Regions from separate parts of the Homo sapiens genome. Here all the other regions are linked to region 1. The links are contacts of gene promoters, found by promoter capture Hi-C in human tissues and cell types (Jung and others, 2019). All regions are on one chromosome and are shown on one strand. Each heading gives the region's core, a stretch centred on a gene start or on the middle of the fragment in contact. The rest is flanking DNA. Distances are from core to core; before and after follow the strand shown. Region 1 holds the start of PEX10 (peroxisomal biogenesis factor 10). Region 2 holds the start of LRRC47 (leucine rich repeat containing 47). Region 3 overlaps WRAP73 (WD repeat containing, antisense to TP73).

Region 1 (3,038 bases), core at 229-2,728:
CTCTTCCTGTCCCATGGCACTGTTCCTTTGGCCACGACACCCCCACCACTGGGCTCTAGTGCCACTGCTCCCTGAAACGTTCTGCTGGGAGTTCATGCCTTTAACGACTGCCTGCCCCACCCCCCAAAGACTTGATGGCTTTGCCTTTTTTTTTTTTTTTTTTTTTTTGAGATGGAGTCTCACTCTGTTGCCCAGACTGGAGTGCAGTGGCACGATCTTGGCTTACTGCAACCTCCGCCTCCCGGGTTCAAGTGATTCTGTCTCAGCCTCCCAAGTAGCTGGGATTACACGCACGCGCCACCACGCCCTGCTGATTTTTGTATTTTTAGTAGAGACGGGGTTTCACCATGTTGTGTAGACTGGTCTCGAACTCCTGACCTCAAGTGATCCACCCGCCTCGGCCTCCCAAAGTGCTGGGATTACAGGCGTGAGCCACCACACCCGGCATCTTTTTTTTTTCGTTTTTTAATCGGTGATGGGGTCTGGCCCCGTCGCCCAGGCTGGAGTGCAGCGGCACAATCATGGCTCACTGCAGCCTCATCCCTCGGGCTCAGGCGATTCTCTTGCCTCAGCCTCCTGAAGAGCTGGGATTACAGACGCCGCCACCACGTCCGGCTAATTTTCAGATTTTTTGTAGAGACGGGGTCTTGCCATGTTGCCCAGGCTGGTTTCAAACTCCTGGGCTCAAGCGATCCTCCCGCCTCTGCCTCCCAAACTGCTGGGATGACAGGTGCTGCTTCATTGAGTACACTGGCTTCTGTACTCAGCTCCCGGCCTGGTGAGGCAGGCAGGGCCTGGCTGAGCCTACACTGGGGTCAGCAGGGCGAGGGGCCTGGGCTGCTGCTCAGGCCTAGGAAAGGCCGGGGTCAGTGTGAACCGGACCGAGGTATGAGGCGTTCGCGCCGCGGGCGCTCTGACCCCTCTGCTCACAGGGGAGGATCGGAGGGAGGCTTGAAGCACTTGCCAAGGCCTCACACCTGGAGGGGACAGAGTCTTCCCCAGCCGCTGGCGTCAGCTGGACCTGCCCTGAGCTGGGGACGGGAAGGGCTTGGGCGGGAACTGGAGGCCCACGCAGGTCCCCCGCGGTGTCTGCGGCCTGTGCCTCTGGGGCCACCTGGCCAGGGAGGGCAGGAGGTGCCCCGCACATCCCTGAATGGCCGCAGGGCAGGCGAAGGAGACTGCCGGGTCCCAGGTTGTGGGACGGGCCCAGGCGACCGTGACCACACACGGCAGACACCCCGCCTCCATGAGGGGCAACACCCCCTGGGCCGCTCGCGAGGACGTCCGGCCGCGCCCGGCCCTCACCCGCCAGGCTGTGCAGGGCGCCGCCCGCCGCGCTCCGCAGCCCACCGCGGTAGTACTCGTCCTTCTGCGCCGCGCGGATCACCTCCGGGGGGCTGGCGGCGGCCGGGGCCATGGCCGCGGGTTCGGGTGGTCCCGAGCAGCCACGCCGGCCACGCCCACGCCCAGACGGGCGAGAACTGATGACGGCACGACGTGGCTCTGCGTGCGGCGCAGACCTCTGCGTCAAGGTGCTGGGGCGGGGCCGGACTGGGGCTGGAGGCGGGGCCAGGGCCCGGGCGGAAGCGGGGCTGGAGTCCGAACCAGCGCAGCGCGGGGCGGGGCAGCGGGAAGGTAGTCGGAGGCGCAGGGCGGAGCGGAGCGGGGCGGGGCCCGCGAGCCGAGGTGGGGGCGGGGCACGCGCGAGGGGCGCTGGCGAGGCAGCGGGATGGGCTCGCGGCCGCGTGGTTGCTGCGACCTCGGGGTCCTACGCTGCCAGGGGCCCCTGCTCTGCTCCCTGCACGTCCACGGGCCGCCCTCCCACTGGGGACAGCGCTGCGGAGTGGAGACGCTGCAGGCCCATTTACGGCTGGGGAGACGGAGGCTTTCGCTTGGGTCTTCGGGAAGCCGAGCTCCCAGCGCCGGCCGCGGCGGTCCCGCCCTCGCGCCCTTTGAGCTGCGCGGGCTCTCAGCGCGGGTTGGCCAGTTCCGGGGAGCCGGTCGGTTTGGGGGCCAGAGGGGCACGAGGCGAGACCCGGGACCTTCCAGGCCCCGAGCAGCCGCCTTCCCCAGTAATCCTGCGCGAAAAGCACACGGCCGGCTTGGTGTGGACGCCCCCCTGGTGCCCACGGGAGGCAGGGCCTGGCGGGTGGGGGGCAGCCGGGAAGCCGCCGCGTGGTTCCAGGACGGGCGGAAGGTGGCCTTCCACCCTCCACCCTCCACCCTGCCTGGCCTGAGCCCCGCAGGTGCTCTGGGGAACCACATCGCAGGCGCTCCGATCCCTCTGCTCCCAGGGGACGAGCGGAGGGAGGCCTGAAGCACTTGCCAAGGCCGCACACCTGGAGGGGACAGAACCTTCCCCAGCCGCTGGCCACAGCTGGACCTGCCCTGAGCTGGGGGTGGGAAGGGCTGGGGCGGGAACTGGAGGCCCACGCAGGTCGCCTGCGGTGTCTGCGGCCTGTGCCTCTGGGGCCGCCTGGCCAGGGAGGGCAGGAGATGCCTGGTACATACCTGAATGGCTGCAGGGCAGGTGAAGGAGAAGGCCCTGTTTTTTGGCCCCAAGGGCAGCACTTGGCCCTGGAGAGTCCTGCAGGATTGCAGGAGGAAGGCAGGGCACGACAAGGGGGCGTCTGCGCCCCGCTGACCTCAGTGGGGAGGGCCTCCAGTTCCTTGCCTCACCTCTGGTTCCATCTACAGGAGCTCAGCTGTGGGATCATCCCCAGACTGGCACAGCCCAGTCACAAAGCCAGAGCCCCACACTGCAGGAATGGCCCCTCTTACAGGGAAGGGGCATGGCCTGGGTGGCCCCGCCCCGCAGGCCCTCTGGCTACCAAACCTCCCAGCGCCCCCGCGCCCCTTTGGAGTTCTGACCCCGCGGGTGCACCCGTGTCTCCTGGACACAGAGGCTGCCCTCTGATTGGGTTGAGCACCTTGGGCTGAACCCCTCATCCGTGGACCAGGCAACCCGGCATCGCCCACGTGGAGCCGCTGAGGTGATCATGTGTTCTGGTCAATGCTTAGATAACAGTTTGAGATGC
Region 2 (3,038 bases), core at 166-2,665, 1.4 Mb after region 1:
GCATAAATTCAAAGACGAAAAATGGGGGAAGAAATGCAGGACTGCCTTAAGGATGAAACCAAAAGAGAAGATGGAGAGAACATCTGGCTGGGTTTAGGTCGTGGTTCTGCCATGTGGCTTCCCTACTTTCTTTTAGGCAACAGATTCAATGGGCACCTGTTATAGGCCAAGCATTATCGCGGGGCCTGGGGATCCAAGATTAATTAGTAAACAGACGCTGGACAATATAGTCTGGAGAAAAACCCAAGTTACCTGCTGCTTACTTTGGGCAGGCCCTTTGGCTTTCTGTAAAACAGGAATAACCACCCCTACCTTGGAAAGCTGCTATTAGGATGAAGTGAAATATAATCTTCAAGATCACAGCATGTGGCATTATGCAAAATCCAGGGTGCCCCCTTCACCACCAGACTCACTCTCAAGTCACTTCACAAGTACTAGATACAAAAAAGACAGGTCTCTACGCTCGATCTACAGGAGAAGCCAGGTTTGCTAACAATTACAAAATAGCGTACCACGTGTAAAAGTCCAGTTAACAGAATGCGGGGGAGTTCAGAGGCCACCTAGTATGTTGGTGTGGCCAGGAGAAGGGGGAGTTGGAAGGCGGCATCTGCTTCCCAGGGGTGATGCCCCCCGCAGCTGGCTCCTTTCAGCCTTGTAGGAATTCCCTGGGCCCAGTGCCCCAGGGGGCGTCACTAGGAACTGCTCGGCCCCGAGAGGGGTTCCTTCTCCAGGGCTACTCCAAGGCCCCATCCCGCCCCGCCCGGGCAGCCCCCGCTGACCTTGAGCGAGGCCAGGTGGGCGATGTCGGGGCTGAGTTCTCGGAGGCAGTTGTCAGCAGCCGCCAGTTCACTGAGCAGGGGCAGCGCGCCGGGGCGAAAGAGCTCGGCGGGAAAGGAGTCTAGGCAATTGCCGGTGAGGTTGAGGCTCTGCAGGCGCGGGGCGCAGCGCGCCAGGTCGGCTGGCAGCTCGCGCAGCCGGTTGCCGCTGAGGTTGAGGCTCTGCAGCTGCGGAAGGCCCGGCGGCTCGGCGGGGCCCAGGCCTTGGCCCGGCGGCAGCGCCTCCAGCGCGTTGCCCGACAGGTCGAGCACCCGAAGGGCAGGCAGCGGCCCGAGCTCGGGGCTCAGGCCGGGCCCCAGCGCGTTGCGCCGCAGCACGAGGCTGTGCAGCTGCGGCAGGCCCTGCGCCAGGCCAGGCCCCGGCGCGCGCAAGCTCCCGCAGCCGCTCACTTCCAAGTAGTGCAGCAGCGGCAGGGTGAAAAGCCGCGGCGGCAGCTGCCCACCCGCCGCCCGCACTCGCTCCTCCAGCCCGGGCCCCGTCAGCAGCAGCTCCCGCCGCCGCTCGCGCTCAGCCAGCTCCAGCTCCGGCCAAGACTCTGACACCGCTGCCGCCGCCATGGCGCCTCAGCTGCTGGCAGGCACCCACCCACCAGGGTGCTTCCGGGGCAGCGCGCGCCACTTCCGACCTGTGCCGGAAAAGCCCATAGAGAAGCCACCTGGCTGCTAGAGTGCCGCCGCGCGTGCCATAGAGGAGAGTGGCCTCTCCTGCGTAGAGCCGGGGAGGGGCTGGAGAGCGGCTCGCTCTCTCCGCGGGTAGGGGTGAGGGTGGGGGTTATGAACCCAAAAATATCTGAGACAGGACTCAATGAAATGTAAAAAGTTTATTTTGCCAAGGTTAAGGACACGCCAGTGTCACAACCCTAGGAGATCGTGACGATGGTGCCCAGGGAAGTTGGGATGCAGCTTGGTTTTGTACATTTTGGGGAGACGTGAGACATCAATCAACACGTGCGAGTGTACCTTGGTTCAGCCCAGAAAGGCTGGACAATTCCAGGAGAGGGCTTTCAGGTCACAGGTAGAGAAGAGACCGGAGGGTGCATTCTTTTGAGTCTTTGTTCAGCCTTTCGCTGACTGCACAATTTATTATGCATGTGAGACGCGGGTAGAGGAATAGTCGCTTATGCTTTAGTCTGGCTTACTGAATCTTCATTTCTACGTAAACAGTAGAGCAAAGGAAGCGATCAGATATGCATTTGTCTAGGTGAGCAGAGGGATGGCTTTGAGTTCAGTCCTTTGTCTCGCACCTGTGAAGGGAAGCTATCAATTTGCATTGCCAGGGTGAAATTCAACAGAACTGTTTTAGGGTAAAGATCTTGAGGCCCACAGAGAATTTCTTTGTGGGCAAATTGTGAGGGAGGTGTGTAGCTTTAAAAATATGTATTTGTAACTATCTTATTTAGGAATAAGACGGGAGGCCGATTTGCCCGAAGCAGTTCCCAGCTTGACTTTTTCCTTTGACTTAGTGATTGTGGGGTTTTGAGATTTATTTTCCTTTCACAGGGTGGGGTGCGGGCGGATGGAGGAGCCAGAGTCTGTGCTCTACTGTGCCCCGACCGGCTTGTTTTGGAATTCCTGCACTTTTGAGTGGTGTAAACCAAAACCAAAATTCTTTTTTTTTTCTTGAGACGGAGTCTCGCTCTGTCACCCAGGCTGGAGTGCAGTGATGCTATCTTGGTTCACTGCAACCTCCGCCTCCTGGGTTCAAGCAATTCTCCTGCCTCAGCCTCCCGCTGGAACTACAGGTGCATGCCACCGTGGCCGGTTAATTTTTATATTAACCGTGTTAATATAATTTTTATATTAACCGGTTTTCGCCATGTTGGCCAGGCTGGTCTCGAACACCTGACCTCAGGTGATCTGCTCGCCTCAGCCCCCCAAAGTGCTGGGCTCACAGGCACAAGCCACCGCACCCAGCCCCCAAATTCTTATTTATTTATTTATTTATTTATTGAGACAGAGTCTTGCTCTGTTACCCAGGCTGGAGTGCAGTGGTTCCAGCTCGGCTCATTGCAGCCTCAACTTCCCTGGCTCCAGTGATCCTCCCACCTCAGCCCCTGAGTAGCTGGTACCACAGGCATGTGCCACCACGCCTGGCTAATTTTTGTATTTTTTGTAGAGCTGGGGTTTTGCCATGTTGCCTAGGCTGGTCTCAAACCCATGAACTCAAGCAATCCACCTGCCTCAACCTCCCAAATTGCTAGG
Region 3 (3,038 bases), core at 159-2,658, 1.2 Mb after region 1:
GCGGCGCAGCGGGATGGGCGGGTTGCCCCGTGGTGTGCGCGGCGCAGCGGGATGGGCGGGTTACCGAGGTGCAGCCAGCAGCCCAGACAGCTATGAGCACTCAGTGGACTTGGGCCCAAACACTGGGATCCAACTCCATCAGAAAAGCACATTATTAAAGGAATTCGTCCATTTTTCTGTATCTTAAAAAGACACTGCGGACACCAAAGACCTGGTATCTAAACACTTGACATATGCCTAATTTTAACTTAAAATGCAGTCTCCTATCCCAGATCCCTCTGATTTATTCTCGGATGTCAACATTCCCCTCCGCGCTGAGCTCAGCACGGAGGCTGTTGTGCGGTACCTACAGCAGGTGAATGGGCGGCTGCCGACCGCCCCGAGCCACGCCCCCAGGCCAGGCTCCTGAAGGAAAGGTGCGAGCCGGCTCATATCACAGCGCATTTTCTATCGTTGAATTAAAGGGAGTGCCGAAATCCTAAAAAATCTAAATTAAGATTTTTAAAATGTTTTTTCTTCAAAACTGGACAAAAGATCAGACAATAATACTTAGTGGCTTATAATGCTCTGACCTAAAATATACACACCACTATATACGCTCCCCGGCTCCCTCCAACCCCGCCAATCTACCAGCCACTCGGGAGCCACCTCAGTCATCAGACCCAGGGCAGCAGACAGTGCCTGTGTTCACGACACCCTTATCTGACTCAGTAGCAGCCCAAAGCACGGGCGGTGGGGCTCGCAATCTGGATACGCCAAAGAGAAGCCACAAAGTGCTTCCTTTAAATGACGAGCTGAAAGTTCTTGACGCAACAAGGAAAGAAAAAATCCTATGCTGAGGTTGTTGCTCAGATCTTCAGTAAGACCAAATCTTCTATCCATGCAATTATAAACAGTATATTGTTATCCTTGTTCTATACTATGATTGTTGCTAATCTCTTACTGTATCTAATTTATAAATTAAATGTATCACAGGTATGCTGTATAGGAAAAAACACAGGAAATACAGGGTTTGGTACAATCTGAATCCCCTGGTGGTCTTAGAATGCATCCCCTGAGGATAAGGGGAGACTAGCATACTCCAAACACACCCCCTCTCGCACTCCCCAGCTGTTTCGAGAGCAGAGGACAGGATCACATGGCCAGTAAGGTGTCTTGGGGCTGACACTTACATGGAATTCCGTGGTGTTGAGAATGTGGCGCCCGTCCGGGCTCCAGCACGAGGCCACCAGCCCGGCTGAGCCCTCGTCTATTTTGCAGTGCCATTCGGGCTGCTCTAAAGACCAGACCTGGATTGAGAGAAGAAAGAAACACACAAGTGCAAACTCATCAGCACCGAGAGACAGCGAGGACAGCTCGCTTAAACGCAGCGGAGACCCGACCGCACAGGGTGTCTTCAAACTCATCAGCAGTCTATAGCGAGGCCTCGCCGAGAGACAACTCCCTTAAAACCAGCAGAGACCCGATCACACAGGGTGTCTTTTAGAACCTTTCATGATGAAGGGCTGGTGCTGGATTCCAGTGTAAAAGTAAGCCACGCTTCTTGGTGATTTCATTTCGTTGTTGTTTTAAAACTGTTTATTCACATTGTCATTCCTAAGACCTCATTTAGTTAAGCTTTGGACACAGAAGAAAACACGACTTCTTAGGACTTCCTGAAACACACCACATCCGCGTGGCTAGATTGCTGTCAACACCTCCGTTTCTCAACTATATTGCTTAGAAATTAAGACTACGTTGGAGTTTCCTTAGTTTAAATGTTCTTAAACTTTAGAGAACGTTATAATTTCAAAAGAAAACTGGCTTTGAGCTGCACGGACTTTTTTTTCAAACTAGAAAGGCACAGAACAAAACCCCTCCTTCCCAGGGGCCCTCAGAAGGTGTCCAGATTCTAAGCGACACGGCAGCACACACCTGCACCAGCCCTCGCTTGTACATGGCGCACAGGATGAAGAGCGAGTCTGCCGACCACTCGATGTGCTGGATCTGGTCTAGGCACGTGTACAGCTGAAGGATCTGAAGGGTGTTCACATCCCGGACCACTAACCGGTACTGGACACAGGAAGCCTAAAAAATATGAGAAAGCAAGCACCTGACATTCTCCACTCCAAAAGAGGGGGGCCTTCGGAATGCTACTGCCCTGGCCTTCAGTGACTGTGGCCTTCTCTCCTGCCAGAGGTTTCATGTCTAGATCACCAGTGACATCCCCAGCCCCTAAAGATCAGTTCAGTTCATACAAGGGTAATGTTGAAATATACAAGCCAGGTTTTAATATTGCTATACTCTATTGTAAAGTATAAAAGTATGTTTTAACTCGCTACTTAAAGCTTTAAGACATTTTTAAGTCCCTTCTTATCTGTATGTTAAAAACTAAACTTAAATGGGAAGTAGCATTGGGAGAAAGCTCTTCTGTGAACTAATAACCAAAATCCTCTGCTAGTTTTATAAACACTTTTGGACAATTTCCTCAAATTTATAAAGGGTAAGAATTGAGGCTTCACAGATGACAACGAAAATGGCAAGGAATGCATCAATCTTCTTATGCAGTGCCGAACTCAGAGCCAAAACAACAGAAGATCAAAAGACAGGCTTTCACTTCTGCACACATAAAGATGCTTCGCAAATGCTCATTTATCTCCATTAACCTATTCCTAACACGAAACGGGAAATGTTTAAGTGTTAGTACTATTTTCTTAAAGATAGTTTCTTCTTGTCCATATTTGTTCATTATGTCCCTATCCAAGCAAACAATTTCAAGTAAAAATAACGCCTGAGTACTCACCTGCTGAATGTATATTTTACTACAGTTTCAAGATCAAGAACTGATGTTTAAATATTAACTGCTTCGTTAGTTTTACTTATCAAGGTCAAAGTAGTTTGTGTTTTATGAACCGATATCAAAAAAGAAAGCCACGTTAGTTTTCCGTGGGAGAAAAGAGAGACAGGCGGGTGACGGCAGATTGGAACAAGGAGCTACCACAGCACTTACTTTCTCACACTGTAGCTTTGAAAACTGTGATCAGTTACAGTGAATTCCT

The links. The method cuts DNA at HindIII sites, captures the fragments that hold promoters and counts their contacts. A contact is called where the count stands out against the background at its distance.
Region 2: a contact is called between the fragment with the promoter of LRRC47 here and the fragment with the promoter of PEX10 in region 1, in 1 of the 25 tissues and cell types used here (spleen).
Region 3: a fragment that was not itself captured here is called in contact with the fragment with the promoter of PEX10 in region 1 in 1 of the 25 tissues and cell types used here (aorta).

What each region holds. Positions count from the first base shown.
Region 1 is chr1:2,411,086-2,414,123 of GRCh38, forward strand. It overlaps PEX10 (peroxisomal biogenesis factor 10), which reads right to left and starts at 1,479. Exons shown (of 6, transcript NM_002617.4): 1 at 1,306-1,479. The coding sequence starts at 1,417. RefSeq lists enhancers at 126-706, 707-1,287, 1,288-1,868, 1,869-2,448 and silencers at 1,065-1,444, 1,605-2,204. The HindIII fragment of the contact is 18,898 bases long and covers 1-3,038 here.
Region 2 is chr1:3,795,083-3,798,120 of GRCh38, forward strand. It overlaps LRRC47 (leucine rich repeat containing 47), which reads right to left and starts at 1,416. Exons shown (of 7, transcript NM_020710.3): 1 at 780-1,416. The coding sequence starts at 1,394. RefSeq lists a silencer at 978-1,187 and an enhancer at 1,303-1,597. The HindIII fragment of the contact is 16,536 bases long and covers 1-3,038 here.
Region 3 is chr1:3,645,494-3,648,531 of GRCh38, forward strand. It overlaps WRAP73 (WD repeat containing, antisense to TP73), which reads right to left. Exons shown (of 12, transcript NM_017818.4): 2 at 1,915-2,067; 3 at 1,173-1,289. Among named protein-coding and RNA genes, the nearest start is that of WRAP73, 3.1 kb to the right of the region's middle. The HindIII fragment of the contact is 3,229 bases long and covers 1-3,023 here.